5 separate regions of the Homo sapiens genome follow, and all the other regions are linked to region 1. The links are contacts of gene promoters, found by promoter capture Hi-C in human tissues and cell types (Jung and others, 2019). All regions are on one chromosome and are shown on one strand. Each heading gives the region's core, a stretch centred on a gene start or on the middle of the fragment in contact. The rest is flanking DNA. Distances are from core to core; before and after follow the strand shown.

Region 1 (2,700 bases), core at 201-2,700:
AACGCCCTTCCATTCATCGCTCTTATTCCAGTCCTGGTTACTACCCCACTTCCTGACATCAAACCAGGGAGAACGCGAGTGTTAGTTAACATGGCTTGGTGTGTGGCCACAGCTGACCCGGCGCATACCTCCCGTCCTCTCTTTACAGGGCTGGCGGTGTCTCGGGGCTCGGCTGGCCATGCCTGGAGCGCGGGGTTTGACTGGGCCGCCGTTGTTGTAGTGACCGGGAGGCGCTGCCGCTCTGGGCAGACGGTTCCGGGAGCCGCACGGTCCCCTCTCCTTCCCCATCCTCTCCCCTCCCCTCTCCGGGTTCCCCCACCCACAGGAGCCTTGGGCCGACCACTCCCCCGATGGCCTCAGCCACGGTAAGGACGGGTTGGAGGTGGGGGGGGTCCCTCCCTGGAGCCTGTCCCGCGGGCTGCGGGGCCAGGTCCGGGCCGAAGCCGCACCTGGAGGGAGATGGAGGCAGGTGTCCGTAGCCGGGTCCTGAGCCCCTCGTCCCGGGGCGTCCGTATCTCACTCTCTGCCATCGGGGCGGACGGAGTGCGGAACCCAGACCCGGCTCCCGGACGCTCTTCCCCGAGTTCCGGAGCTCCGGACTGAGCTGGGCGGCCCCACGGCCCCCAGAATTCTCGGAGGGTTTCCGTGGAGCGCCTGCGTCAGAATCACCTAGGAAGTATTAAAAAAAAAAAAAGTACCAAAGCCGAGGCGCATCCTCGCACCTGCCTGCCTTGGGCCAGCGGGCGGGGCCCGGGAACGTGCATTTCAAAGGGGCCGCGGTTCCTGCGATGCGCTGGACTCTGGGAAGCGCGAACAGAGCGTTTTGCGGGCTCTGCGGGGAGAGCTGGCGCCGGCGTCTCCCTGTAGCAGGACTGGGCGCCGCGCCCGTGGGTGGGCTGCTGCCCGGCCCCGCCGCCCAGCCAAGCCGCCGCCTGGGTGGCCATTCCCAAGCCGGACTCCGGGGAAGTGGCAGCGTGGATCCCAGCCGCCAGAATTCGAGGTCTGCGGCGGCTTTCAAAACTTGACAACTTTCCTTTCCAGGAGGACCCCGTTCTGGAGCGTTATTTCAAAGGCCACAAAGCTGCGATCACCTCCTTGGACCTCAGCCCCAACGGCAAGCAACTTGGTAAGTCTTATTCTTGTTTTGCTTTTGTAATGAGACTAAACTCCATGGGCCGGAAACCTTTCCTCCTGTCCGGGCAGGGTCCCTAGGAGAACGGCTAAGGGCCTGTATGAGGGTTGAGAGCACCCGGAGACGAGGGCCCAGCGCGGCGGGGCGCAGCTAGGGCCCCCTCTGCCATCCCGGCCCCCAGCCCCCGGCCCGGCCAAGAGCCTCCTATCCAGCGGTCTGGGCCTGGCGGACGACTTTCGCAAACTAACCACCAGGAGGAGTGAGTGGGAAGGGGAGGGGTTTCTCCTCGGCCCGGGGAGGGTGGGGTGTTGGCTGGAGAGTTTGTGAAAAGTTGTGAGCCGAGCAGGAGGAAGTAGGGAGAGAGGAGTTGGGCTGTGCCGGAGGCCGAGGACCGAGAGGGCTCAGGTGACCCCTGGAAAGCCTGGGTGGCTGGAAAGGAGCCTAGCGCCTGCATGAAAGGAAGAACCTGCTGGGAAGTACCTGAGCTCGAGCTGTGGGTTCCGCCGCCCTTCCCCTGCGTGGTGGCTTGGTGGCCGCGTCTGCGCCTCAGCCCTGAGAATCCGGATGGCGGTGAGGTGGACTTGGGCAGGCAAGAGCTGCCTGCTGCTGGCGTTTTTAACAGTGGCCTATATCTTCGTGGAGCTCTTGGTCTCTACTTTTCATGCCTCCGCAGGAGCCGGCCGTGCCAGGGAGCTGGGGTCAAGAAGGCTCTCAGACCTCCAGAAAAATACGGAGGATTTGTCTCGACCGCTTTATAAGAAGCCCCCTGCAGATTCCCGTGCACTTGGGGAGTGGGGGAAAGCCAGCAAACTCCAGCTCAACGAGGATGAACTGAAGCAGCAAGAAGAACTCATTGAGAGATACGCCATCAATATTTACCTCAGTGACAGGATTTCCCTGCATCGACACATAGAGGATAAAAGAATGTATGAGTGTAAGTCCCAGAAGTTCAACTATAGGACACTTCCTACCACCTCTGTTATCATTGCTTTCTATAACGAAGCCTGGTCGACTTTGCTCCGTACCATTCACAGTGTTTTAGAAACTTCTCCTGCAGTTCTTTTGAAAGAGATCATCTTGGTGGATGACTTGAGTGACAGAGTTTATTTGAAGACACAACTTGAAACTTACATCAGCAATCTTGATAGAGTACGCTTGATTAGGACCAATAAGCGAGAGGGGCTGGTTAGGGCCCGTCTGATTGGGGCCACTTTCGCCACTGGGGACGTCCTCACTTTCCTGGATTGTCACTGTGAGTGTAATTCCGGTTGGCTGGAACCGCTTTTGGAAAGGATTGGGAGAGATGAAACAGCAGTTGTGTGTCCTGTTATAGACACAATTGATTGGAATACTTTTGAATTCTATATGCAGATAGGGGAGCCCATGATTGGTGGGTTTGACTGGCGTTTAACATTTCAGTGGCATTCTGTCCCCAAACAGGAAAGGGACAGGCGGATATCAAGAATTGACCCCATCAGATCACCTACCATGGCTGGAGGACTGTTTGCTGTCAGCAAGAAATATTTTCAGTACCTTGGAACGTATGACACAGGAATGGAAGTGTGGGG
Region 2 (2,700 bases), core at 17-2,516, 1.3 Mb after region 1:
CCATGTCTCACATGCAGGTCACACTGATTCAGGAGATGGGTTCTCATGGTCCTGGGCAGCTCTGCCTCTGTGGCTTTTTGGGGTACAGCCTCCTTCCTGGCTGCTTTCATGGGCTGGTGTTGAGTGTCCACAGCTTTTTCAGGTGCACAATGCAAGCTGTTGGTAGATCTACCATTCTGGGTTCTGGAGGATGGTGGCCCTCTTCTCACAGCTCCACTAGGCAGTGCCCCAGTAGGGACTCTGTGTGGAGGCTCCAACCCCACATTTCCCTTCTGTCCTGCCCTAGCAGAGGTTCTCCATGAGGGCCCTGCCCCAGCAGCAAACCTGCCTGGGCATCCAGGCGTTTCCATACGTCTTCTGAAATCTACTCGGAGGTTCCCAAACCTCAATTCTTGACTTCTGTGTACCTGCAGACTGAACAACATGTGAAAGTTGCAAAGGCTTGGGGCTTGTAGCCTCTGAAGCCATGGCCCGAGCTGTACCTTGGTCCCTTTTAGTCATGGCTGGAGTGGCTGGAACACAGGACACCAAGTCCCTAGGCTACACACAGCACAGACACTCTGGGCTTGGCCCACTAAACCATTTTTTTTTTCCCTAGACCTTCAGGTCCATGATGGGAAGGGCTGCCATGAAGACCTCTGACATGCCCTGGAGACATTTCCCACATTGTCTTGGGGATTAATTTGGCTTCTAGTTACTTATGTAAATTTCTGCAGCTGGGTTGAATTTCTCCTTAGAAAATGGGATTTTCTTTTCTACTACACTGTCAGGCTGCAAATTCTGCAAACATGTATGCTCTTTTTCACTTTAAAAACTAAATTCCTTTAACAGCACACAAATCACCTCTTGAATGCTTTGCTGCTTAGAAATTTCTTCTGCCACATACCCCAAATCATCTTTCTCAACGTCAAAGTTCCACAGATCTCTAGGACAGGGGAAAAATGCCTCCAGTCTCTTTGCTAAAACATAACAAGAGTCACCTTTGCTCCAGTTCCCAACAAGTTCCTCATCTCCATCTGAGACCACTTCAGCCTGGATTTCATTGCTCATATCATTATCAGCATTTTGGTCAAAGCCATTCAACAAATCTCTAGGGAGTTCCAAACTTTCCCACATTTTCCTGTCTTCTGAGCCCTCCAAACTGTTCCAACCTCTGCCTGTTACTCAGTTCCAAAGTTGTTTCCACATCTTTGGGTATCTTTTTAGCAGCACCCCACTCTACTGGTACCAATTTACTGTATTAGTCTGTTTTCACACTGCTGATAAAGACATACTCGAGACTGGGCAATTTACAAAAGAAAGAGGTTTAATGGACTTAGTTCCACGTGGCTGGGGAGGCCTCACAATCATGGCGGGAGATGAAAGGCACATCTCACATGGTGGCAGACAAGAGAAGAGAGCTTGTTTAGGGAAACTTCTCCTTATATAATCATTAGGTCTCATGAAATGTATTCACTGTGATGAGAACAGCACAGGACAGACCTGCCCCCATGATTCAATTACCTCCCAGACAAACCATATCAGTATGGAAAACCATGGGGTCCTGGCAGATGCCTGCTGCATGGGTGGAGCCCTCACAGAGAACTTCTACTAAGGTAGTGCAGAGGGGAAATGTGGGGTTGGAGGCCCCACCCAGAATTTTCACTTGGGACACTGCTTAGTGAAACTGTGGGAAGGGAAGAAGACCAGTATCTTCCAGGCCTGAACATGGTTGATCCACTGGAGACTTTCACCCTTCATTTGGAAAGCCACAGACACTTGACTCCAACCCATGAGAGCAGCCTCAGGGGCTAAATCCTGCAAAGCTCCATTGGGTAGAGGTGCCCAAGGTCTTGGGAGCCCACCCCTCATATCAGTGTGCCCTGGATATGGGACATGGAGTCAAAGGAGATTATGTTGGAGTTTTATGATTTAATGATGGGCCTGCTGGATTTCGCAGTTGTGAGGGGCCTGTAGCTCCTTTCTTTTGGGCATTTTCTCCCTTTTGGAATGGGAATGTTTACCCAATGTCTGTATCTCCATTGTATCTTGGAAGTAAATAATTTGTTTTGATTTTACAGGCTCATAGGTAGAAGGGACTTGACCTGGAAATTTTGAGTTAATGCTGGAATGAGTTAAGACTTTTGCGGACTATTGGGGAGGCATGATTATATTTAGCAATGTGAGAAGAACATGAAATTTGGGGGGCCAGGGATGGATTGACATAATTTTGATATTTGTCCCCCCAAATCTCATGTTCAACTGTAATCTCTAATGTGGGAGGTGACTGGACCATAAAGGTGAATTTCTTATTAATGGTTTAGCACCATCCACTTGGTGATCTCCTCACTAGTGAGTGAGTTATCATGAGATTTAGTTGTTTAAAAAGTGTGTGGTGCTTCCCCCACTCCTATTGCTCCTGCTCTTGCCATATGGTGTGCCTGCTCCTGCTTCACCTTCTACCATAAGTAAAAGCTCCCTGAGCCCTCCATAGAAGCCAAGCAGATGCCAGCACCATGCTTATACATTGTGAGCCAATTAAACCTCTCTTTTAAAATAAATTACTCAGTCTGTTTTTTTTTTCCACACCAATGCAAGAATGCCCTAATAGTCTTTTCTTTTTACTATAGTTATTTTAAAGTATTTGGTAACCTTAGTATTTATTCGGATAATTGGTATGTATGCTGCTATTTTTGTCTTATTAGTCATATTTTTCTGCAT
Region 3 (2,700 bases), core at 188-2,687, 1.4 Mb after region 1:
TTTTTCAAGTTGCAAACTCAATATTATTACATTAGTATTACTTGACCTTTAACAATTTGCTTGATTTGATAATTTTAGTGCCACAGCATAAGTATACAATGAGATAATACCTATAACAATTATAGTTCCTAAGCATATATACAGTGTGACTATGCTGTTCCTTAACTGTTAGTTTGAGGCAACTAGGATACAAAGATTATAATGAAGATAGTGATGATAGCAAGAAATTACAGATTGCTTACTATATGCATTTTATATATATTAACTCAATATGACTCACTTAAGTAGGATGACTATTATCTTAGTTCACTGAATATGGAAGTGGCAATGGTCATTTGAGACTTTATTCTCAGTAACATCCTTGTTTTCATTTGGATCTGACTCAAAGTTTGTTCTGTCTCAGGCTGTAAAATCAAATTACATAAATATAGGGAAGAACACAGAATAAGTAGGTGCCATGGAGCTTTCCTAACTTGACTTACAAGACAAATGAGGAGACTATGGAGATGAAAAACCAAAAGATACAAAAGCATGACTTAGAAAACTGAACTAAATATTTAAATTTTAAAATGTGTCACACTTAATTCCATAGTAAGCATTACATGAACTGACATTTAAATTCACCTTTTTGTTGATATTTTCTGCCATCCATGGGCTACCAAAATACAGAACCCCATGCTGGGAACATATAATACTCGCTCGGCAACAACAAATCCAACTGGAAAAAAAAGGTTCGATGCAGGAATAAATGGTAATGCCATTAAACAAAGCGCCTACAAAAAAAAAAAGAAGATTTAATAATTTATAATAAATTTAAAATAATTTATAATAAATTAAGAAATATATGGGCATCTGATACTTGAATCCAAATATTTTATCATTTAACCTGGATAGTGTACTGCTAAACTATTTTTAATAATACTGTGAAGAATATTAATTTAAACATAAAGAAGGCAACTTAGACATTAACAAACATCAGGATGTACGTAAGCAAGGTGAAATGGAAATCTTGAATTCTAAAAGTTAAAATTAGAGGATATCTATGAACTTTGAAAACAAGATTTCTAGGTGTGTTTGGGAGTGATTACTCCTTGAAATTAAAATCTAAACCATTACAGCATTTTAAATTTGAGAAGCATAATTAGCTATATCTCACTGGTTTTCTGTAAAGAATATGCTTGCATAGTAAAATATAAAAACTTTAATAAATGTAAATATTCACATCTTTAAGCAAAAATTAAACAATAAAGGTTCATCCAGTTAAATAGTGGAAGTACTTTTTGAAATTCTATCTAAAATAACACACTCAAACAATCATAAGAAAACAACCCAATTTAAAAAATGGGCAAAGTAGCTAAATAGATATTCCTCAGAAGACAACATGCCAATGGCCATCAAGTATATAAATGTTCAACATCACTATCATTAAGGAAGTGAAAATTAAAACCACAATGAGATGTCATCGCACACCTGTAAGAATGGCTATTATCAAAAAGTCAAAAGATAACAAATGTTGGCAAGAACGTAAAGGAAACACTTGCACACTGTTGGTGGGATGTAAATTAGCATTGCCATTAAGCAAACAGTAGGAAGGCTTCTCAAAAAATTAAAAATAGAACTACCATGTGACCCAGCATCCTCACTACTGGGTATAGATCCAAAGGAAATGAAGTCAGTATGTTGAAGAGAGATCTGACCTCCCCTGTTCATTGCAGCATTATTCAATTTACAATAGCCAAGATATGGGAACAACCTAAGTATCCATCAACAGATTACTGGATGAAAAAAATGTGGTACATATACACTTTAGAATACTATTTAGCCTTAAAACAGAAGGAAATCCTGTCATTTCTGACATGGATAAACCCGGAGGACACCATGTTAAGAGAAATAAGCCAGCCACAGAAAGACAAACAACGCATGATCTCACTTGTATGTAGAATTTGTAAAAGTTGAACTCACAGAAGTACAGTACATGGTGGTCACCAGGGTTGGAGGGAGAAGGTTGGGGAGAGGTTGGTCAAAAGGCATAAAACTTCAGTTAGGAGGAATACAAATTAAATAAATAAAAATTTTACACATCTAACTTATGTGCGTGTGGTAAAAATAAGATGATAATGAAATATGCTAATAGGTTTTTCAACAAAACAAAACCACAAATGCTGATTAAAAAAAAGCTAAACATGTCAGTTTTTACAACTTTACTACTTTAAGAAACCACATGATATTGGAAACTGAGGGAATGAAATCAGGTGTCGTTCAGACAAGATAGCAGACTACTGTACCTTAGCATTACTTCACATAACATCCTGAAAGGTTAAATGTATTTAACTAGAAGCTTAGTGTATGCATAAAAATAAAACTGCCCCCCTTTAAATCAACAGTCTTTCATTCTACAAGAATTTCTAAAATTATTAATATAACACTGAACATTGAAATGAAACATCATAAAAATGTTTAGATTTCTTACCATTTTGAAAATGGGATGACATGTGGTTTCCACATTATACACCCATAAAAAACTAGCACATAAATAGCTTGTGAAGGAAATAAGTTTGGTCGTTATTAGGAAATCTGTTTCTATGGACATCTGCTTCCATATTTTGTTACCCCGATTTGTTTTACAGTACTTAATTGAATAAACAAGTTAAACCTTTAGCTTCACAAGTTTGAGACTCTTCTAATGGGCTAAGGTGAAAG
Region 4 (2,700 bases), core at 143-2,642, 1.3 Mb before region 1:
TCTTTTCTCTTTTATACCATGTTCCTCAGGGCCAGGAGGGGAAGTGAACTTCCTCCTGGCCCACACTGACAGTTTCCAAGTGTAACAACCTGTTGCTTTTGCAAACCCTTGCTCGTTTGAAGCCTATGCTATCAGGTTATATTACCCACTCCTTTGCCTCCCTAATTACCCACTCCTTTGCCTCCTACCAATCTCTTGTCAAGCTCTCCAGGCATTCAAACTTTTAACTGGCTTGTTTGTTCAAAAGTCCTCAATATAATTATTTTTATTGCTGTTCTCACCAAACGTCTAATCTGCTGACTGACTGCTTTCTTATTATTCATCAGCTTTCACCTGTCTTCACTTTCTTCATTGTCTAGCATATATTTCATAACCCATGGTAATATGACAGTAACAATATTTGATGTGTATTAAATACTTTACCAGACACACTGTTTAAAGAGTTGTACATGCTTTACATTCAACTCACCCAACTGTATGAGGTAAGATCTATTATCCCCATTTCAAAATGGAGAAATCAATAGTCAATCATTTAAATATATATATGTAAATGATCCCCAATTTCCTCACTTGCTTCCTTCTTGCCATTGTTCTAAACTTGCACAACCTTGATCCTGAAGCAACCTAATTGTGTTTCCTCTTATTTGCACACAGACAGGTGAACTTTGCTGGAATAACTAACACAATTATTCAGACTGATTGTACTTTATGTTCTCAAGTGGGGACTCAGTACTACTGACAAGCGTATTTATGTTTTTCTGTGGGGCTAACTTCCCATTCTTTGGGATAACTACTACTTCTAGGGTCTCTTCTCACATGTCACACACCTCCGTGCCTACACTTCCCTCTCACCTGATGACCTCACTTCATACGTTGTTTAGAAGTAAGATGGCATTGAGAAGGAAACTCCCTCATTTTCATATTAATCCATCTGTGAACATACCTGCCCCTGCCACCTTTTGTCTCTCCCTGCTGCTGATGGACCTTTTCTTCCTCCTGTTGAAGGCCAGCCCTGCACTTCTGAGCTGAATCTTGCTTCTCAAGTATTGTGTTTCCTTCTCTCTTTGGAGCTTTTAACATTCCTTTAAATCTAAGCTGCCATTAAATATAGGTTGTGCCATTACTTTATGTACATTTATTTTATTTTCTTTAATCCTGGTAAAATATACAAAACACAGAATTTGCTATGTAAACCATTTTTAAGTGTGTAGTTCAGTGACAACAAGAACATTCACATTTTTGTATGATCATCGTCCATCTCCAAAACTTCTTTCATCCTCCCAAATAGAAATGACATACCCATTAAACAATTACTCCCCATTTTCCCCTACTCCTACCTCCCTTGCCCTAGCACTACCATTCTGCTTTCTGTCTCTATAAATAAGACCTCGTGAGTTACATCTTGAGGTACCTTTAGGTATCTCAGATAAGTGGAATCATACATTATGTTTTCTTCATCACTGGGTGATTTCACTTAGCATAATGTCATTAAGTCCCACCTGTGCTATAGCATATGTCAGCATGTCCTTCCTTTTTAGGGCTGATTATACTCTGTCACATGTATGTACCACATTTTGTTTATCCAGTCACCTGTTGATTGACACTTGGGAATATTCTACCTTCTGACTACCGTGAATAATGGTGCTATAAACATGGGTGTGCCTTCAATTCTTTTAAATGCATACCTAGTAGTGGAATTGCTGTATCACAGAGTAATTCTATGTTTAATTTTTTTGAAGACCTACTATATCATTTTCCATAGAGACTGCAGCATTTTACCTACTCACCAGCAATGCAGAAGAGTTTTGATTGTTTTTTTTACATCCTCATCAACATTTCTTAATTTGTTTTTTGTTACCACTTTTATAATAGCCTTTATCTGCATTTCACAGAGATAAAAAATATATGCTTGAAGACAGGAAAGCTAATAAAAAATTCCCAAATACTTGAACATCAAAGGCCTTCATCTTCAATGTAAGGATGTGTGAGGACAAAAGCCTACTAGGCAGAAAGGGAAAGCAATGGAATGTGCCAATTTTAACCTTGACACAGAATGAAAAGAGGAGGGGGGAAATAGCCCAAGAATTGAACACAAGTGAGCTTCAAAGACCTCAAGTGGAAAATTTAATCTAAAAAGGATTTTGGTGAATATTGCCTCAAGATGACTTGTAGAAGCTAATGCCAATCCTCTACACTTCATTTAATGGATTATGAAACATATTCCAAATTCAGAATCACTAAAATGTGAAAAAAACCCCTGTATTTTAAAATTGAAGAAATATGATATTTCTACCCAGAAAATCATTCCCAATTAACATATACACAGTGTCCTTCATCTTAAAAAATATAATAAATCTGAACCCCTATTTTCCTCAGCTATAACTCAATTTATTTGATTGTCTTTGTTGATACAGGTTTTTCAAGAGTAATCTCTACAAGGCTCTATCTGCTTTCTTTACCACAATTTACAGTTTTTAAAAAAACACTTTTTTTTAAATAATATAAATAATATGTAAGCACATTACCATTGTATAAGGCACAAAAATTACAGAAGAATGCAAGTTTTAAACCATTCTCTAATGCCTCCTTCCCTTCACAGTATAAATAAATAAATATATATTTATTTCACCGTGTTAGCCAGGATGGTCTCGATCTCCTGATCTCCTGATCCACCTGCCTCGGCCTCCCAAAGTGCTGGGA
Region 5 (2,700 bases), core at 29-2,528, 1.3 Mb before region 1:
TCTGTATGATCATCATGACAGAGTTGTCTTTGTCTCTGTGGAACTCATAAGTTAAGGCATCAGGCTTGTTGAAGAGATTCCTTTTGTTTTTCATTTTATTTTTGTTGCTCTGATCACAGTGAGACCATCTGGCATACTGTCGATGTCTGCAAACACAAATTTAAGACCCTTGAGAAAATATAACATGCCAGGACGATTATAATGATGGCTATCAGGAGGATAGTACCAAGAAAGTGGAGTGTGCCCCTTAATCAAGGTCCCCTTGAACCAAATCAACTATTTCTAAAGAAACAGAAGAAAAGCAAAGGTCAATGACGAAAATAAACCAAAAATTCAGCTCTGAGTCCAGAGGGTAATTAGTCAAGAAGGTTTCTAGATTTTAGCTCAAGGCATATGTTCCCGGTTTGCAGTTTGAGTGTCCCTGCTTATGGCATTGGACATTTCAGGCAACTTCCTGAGTGGCCCACACGTCAGGCATGAGGGATATCCTCTGAAATTACATCCAATTGTTGATCTACAGCTTGTCGTGTTTCAGAAACAGAGCAGTTCTTCTTTTTAGTGATTCCAAGTCAGGAAAGTGGGAGAAAATTGGATTGTGGGAATCTATACCAATTCAAGATCCAGTTTAATTTATAGGTAAATAATGAAACTCAAAAGCAATGATTAGAGCCACGATCTAATAACAGGTGTACTATAGTTTCTTCTGAAACATAGTTTTTCTCTCTATAGTCATCCAAATTTTTACTGAAGATAATCAGAGTAAGAATAATTTGATTACCAAATAAATTTAGTCTCATCAAACTTGGCCTATTTATATAAGTGCAGCAAGACAGTAAGAATAGTGATTGGCCATATAGGTGCTTTTATTTATTTATTTTTCTGTTGTTGTTGTTATTGTTGAGTTGGAATCTCTCTCTGTCACCCAGGGTGGAGTGCAGTGGCACAACCTCAGCTCACTGCAACCTCTGCCTCCCAGGTTCAAGCGATTCTCCCACCTCAGCCGTTCAAGTAGCTGGGACTATAGGCATGCATCGCCACACCCAGCATATATATATATATATATATTCAGTTTGTCCTATATTCTTTATCTTTTTAATTGTGGAGCAATTAGTCACTCTAGGACAAAAACTACTCTCTTTTCAAAACACATCCTCATACTTCTTTCTTTATAAAACATGCCTACTTGCCTTGCATACAGAGTCGTTCACTTATTGTTTCTAGAAGTTTGTATTACATATAATAATCCGAATTTTTAACTTTTAGTAACTTTAACTTTTACTAAAAACTAGTAGGCATTGTTAACTGCTTTAGATTAGCATTTTGTAGATAAACATTCTCTCATAATACAATTTTTATGTCTTTAATTAATGGATTTATACACATTCAACTTCTTTATTCCATATAAAAAACGAGATGCCAAAATATATATACTTTAAACTTATGTTCAGCAATTAATGCTAAAGTATTTTAACTTAGGCCGGGCGCAGTGGCTCAAGCCTGTAATCCCAGCACTTTGGAAGGTCAAGATGGGCGGATCACGAGGTCAGGAGATTGAGACCATCCTGGCTAACACGGTGAAACCCTGTCTCTACTAAAAATACAAAAAAAATTAGCCGAGCGTGGTGGCGGGGCCTGTAGTCCCAGCTACTCGGGAGGCTGAGGCAGGAGAATGGTGTAAACCAGGCAGGCGGAGCTTGCAGTGAGCCGAGATCACGCCACTGCACTCCAGCCTGGGCGGCAGAGCGAGACTCCGTCTCAAAAAAAAAAAAAAAAAAAAAAAAAAGAAATAACGCAGACATTTAATGACAATCTGTTGTCATTAACAGTTGTTTAAAAATGTGTAGCACTTCCCCCTTTGTTCTCTCTCTCCTGCTCTGCTATGTGAAGATGTGCCTGCCTCCCCTTCGCCTTCCACCATGATTGTAAGTTTGTTGAGGCTTCTTCATCCATGCTTCCTGTACAGCCTGAAGAACTGTGAGTCAATTAAACCTCTTTTTTCATAAACTCTGCAATCTCAGGTAGTTGGTTATATCAATGTGAGAATGGACTAATATATTCTCCAAGTGGGCTTTGAAATCAGTAGCAATTTCTTTTCTCTGCAGGTCTAGTTGATGGATCAGTCAGCATGGACAGGAAACACTTTAGGAATGGCTTTCAAAAGACTGTGTGTGTGTGTGTTTCTTTTACTGGCTCATACATGGGCCAGATAGGGGTTTGTGATCACTAATATCCTAAAGGCAGTACCATTCTGACTCTTGCGTCCAATTTGAGCTTCTCTGGATCCTATCAACATGGATTTAACTAGATTACTAAGTTTAGGGTGAAACTCATTAATGCATAGGACAGACAAAGCCTTTCCTTTGCCAACAGGGATACCTTTCATTACTGCTCTGAGCGCCAAGATTGTAACCAATGCATAAGGGTGGCTAAAAGCAGACTGGGCCCCGCATGGTGGCTCATGCCTGTAATCCCAGTAGTTTGTGAGGCCAAAGCAGGAGAATCACTTGAGTCCAGGAGCTCAAGACCAGGCTGGGGATCATAGTGAGGTCCTGTTTCTACAAAATCAATCAATAAATAAACAAATAAATAAATAATTAGTCAGGTGTGGTGGCATATGACTATAGACCCACTACTTTGGAGGTTAATGTGAGAGGATTGCTTGAGCTTGGGAGGTTGAGGCTGCAGTGAGCTGAGAACATA

What was found. The method cuts DNA at HindIII sites, captures the fragments that hold promoters and counts their contacts. A contact is called where the count stands out against the background at its distance.
Region 2: a fragment that was not itself captured here is called in contact with the fragment with the promoter of GALNT4 in region 1 in 1 of the 25 tissues and cell types used here (hippocampus).
Region 3: a contact is called between a fragment that was not itself captured here and the fragment with the promoter of GALNT4 in region 1, in 1 of the 25 tissues and cell types used here (IMR-90 fibroblasts).
Region 4: a fragment that was not itself captured here is called in contact with the fragment with the promoter of GALNT4 in region 1 in 1 of the 25 tissues and cell types used here (mesenchymal stem cells).
Region 5: a fragment that was not itself captured here is called in contact with the fragment with the promoter of GALNT4 in region 1 in 1 of the 25 tissues and cell types used here (dorsolateral prefrontal cortex).

The regions. Positions count from the first base shown.
Region 1 is chr12:89,523,546-89,526,245 of GRCh38, reverse strand. It overlaps GALNT4 (polypeptide N-acetylgalactosaminyltransferase 4), which reads left to right and starts at 1,450. Exons shown (of 1, transcript NM_003774.5): 1 at 1,450-2,700. The coding sequence starts at 1,697. POC1B-DUSP6 (POC1B-DUSP6 readthrough) reads left to right here and starts at 199. Exons shown (of 11, transcript NR_189589.1): 1 at 199-365; 2 at 1,042-1,126. POC1B (POC1 centriolar protein B) reads left to right here and starts at 199. Exons shown (of 12, transcript NM_172240.3): 1 at 199-365; 2 at 1,042-1,126. The coding sequence starts at 351. POC1B-GALNT4 (POC1B-GALNT4 readthrough) reads left to right here. Exons shown (of 3, transcript NM_001199782.1): 1 at 1-365; 2 at 1,042-1,126; 3 at 2,573-2,700. The coding sequence starts at 91. It also overlaps POC1B-AS1. RefSeq lists silencers at 244-503, 1,054-1,433 and an enhancer at 1,524-1,733. The HindIII fragment of the contact is 7,763 bases long and covers 1-2,700 here.
Region 2 is chr12:88,202,757-88,205,456 of GRCh38, reverse strand. No RefSeq gene overlaps it. Among named protein-coding and RNA genes, the nearest start is that of TMTC3, 62 kb to the right of the region's middle. The HindIII fragment of the contact is 6,396 bases long and covers 1-2,700 here.
Region 3 is chr12:88,170,670-88,173,369 of GRCh38, reverse strand. It overlaps TMTC3 (transmembrane O-mannosyltransferase targeting cadherins 3), which reads right to left. Exons shown (of 14, transcript NM_181783.4): 8 at 625-773. Among named protein-coding and RNA genes, the nearest start is that of TMTC3, 30 kb to the right of the region's middle. The HindIII fragment of the contact is 7,147 bases long and covers 1-2,700 here.
Region 4 is chr12:90,830,817-90,833,516 of GRCh38, reverse strand. No RefSeq gene overlaps it. Among named protein-coding and RNA genes, the nearest start is that of LINC00615, 86 kb to the left of the region's middle. The HindIII fragment of the contact is 7,187 bases long and covers 1-2,700 here.
Region 5 is chr12:90,847,056-90,849,755 of GRCh38, reverse strand. No RefSeq gene overlaps it. Among named protein-coding and RNA genes, the nearest start is that of LINC00615, 70 kb to the left of the region's middle. The HindIII fragment of the contact is 4,404 bases long and covers 1-2,700 here.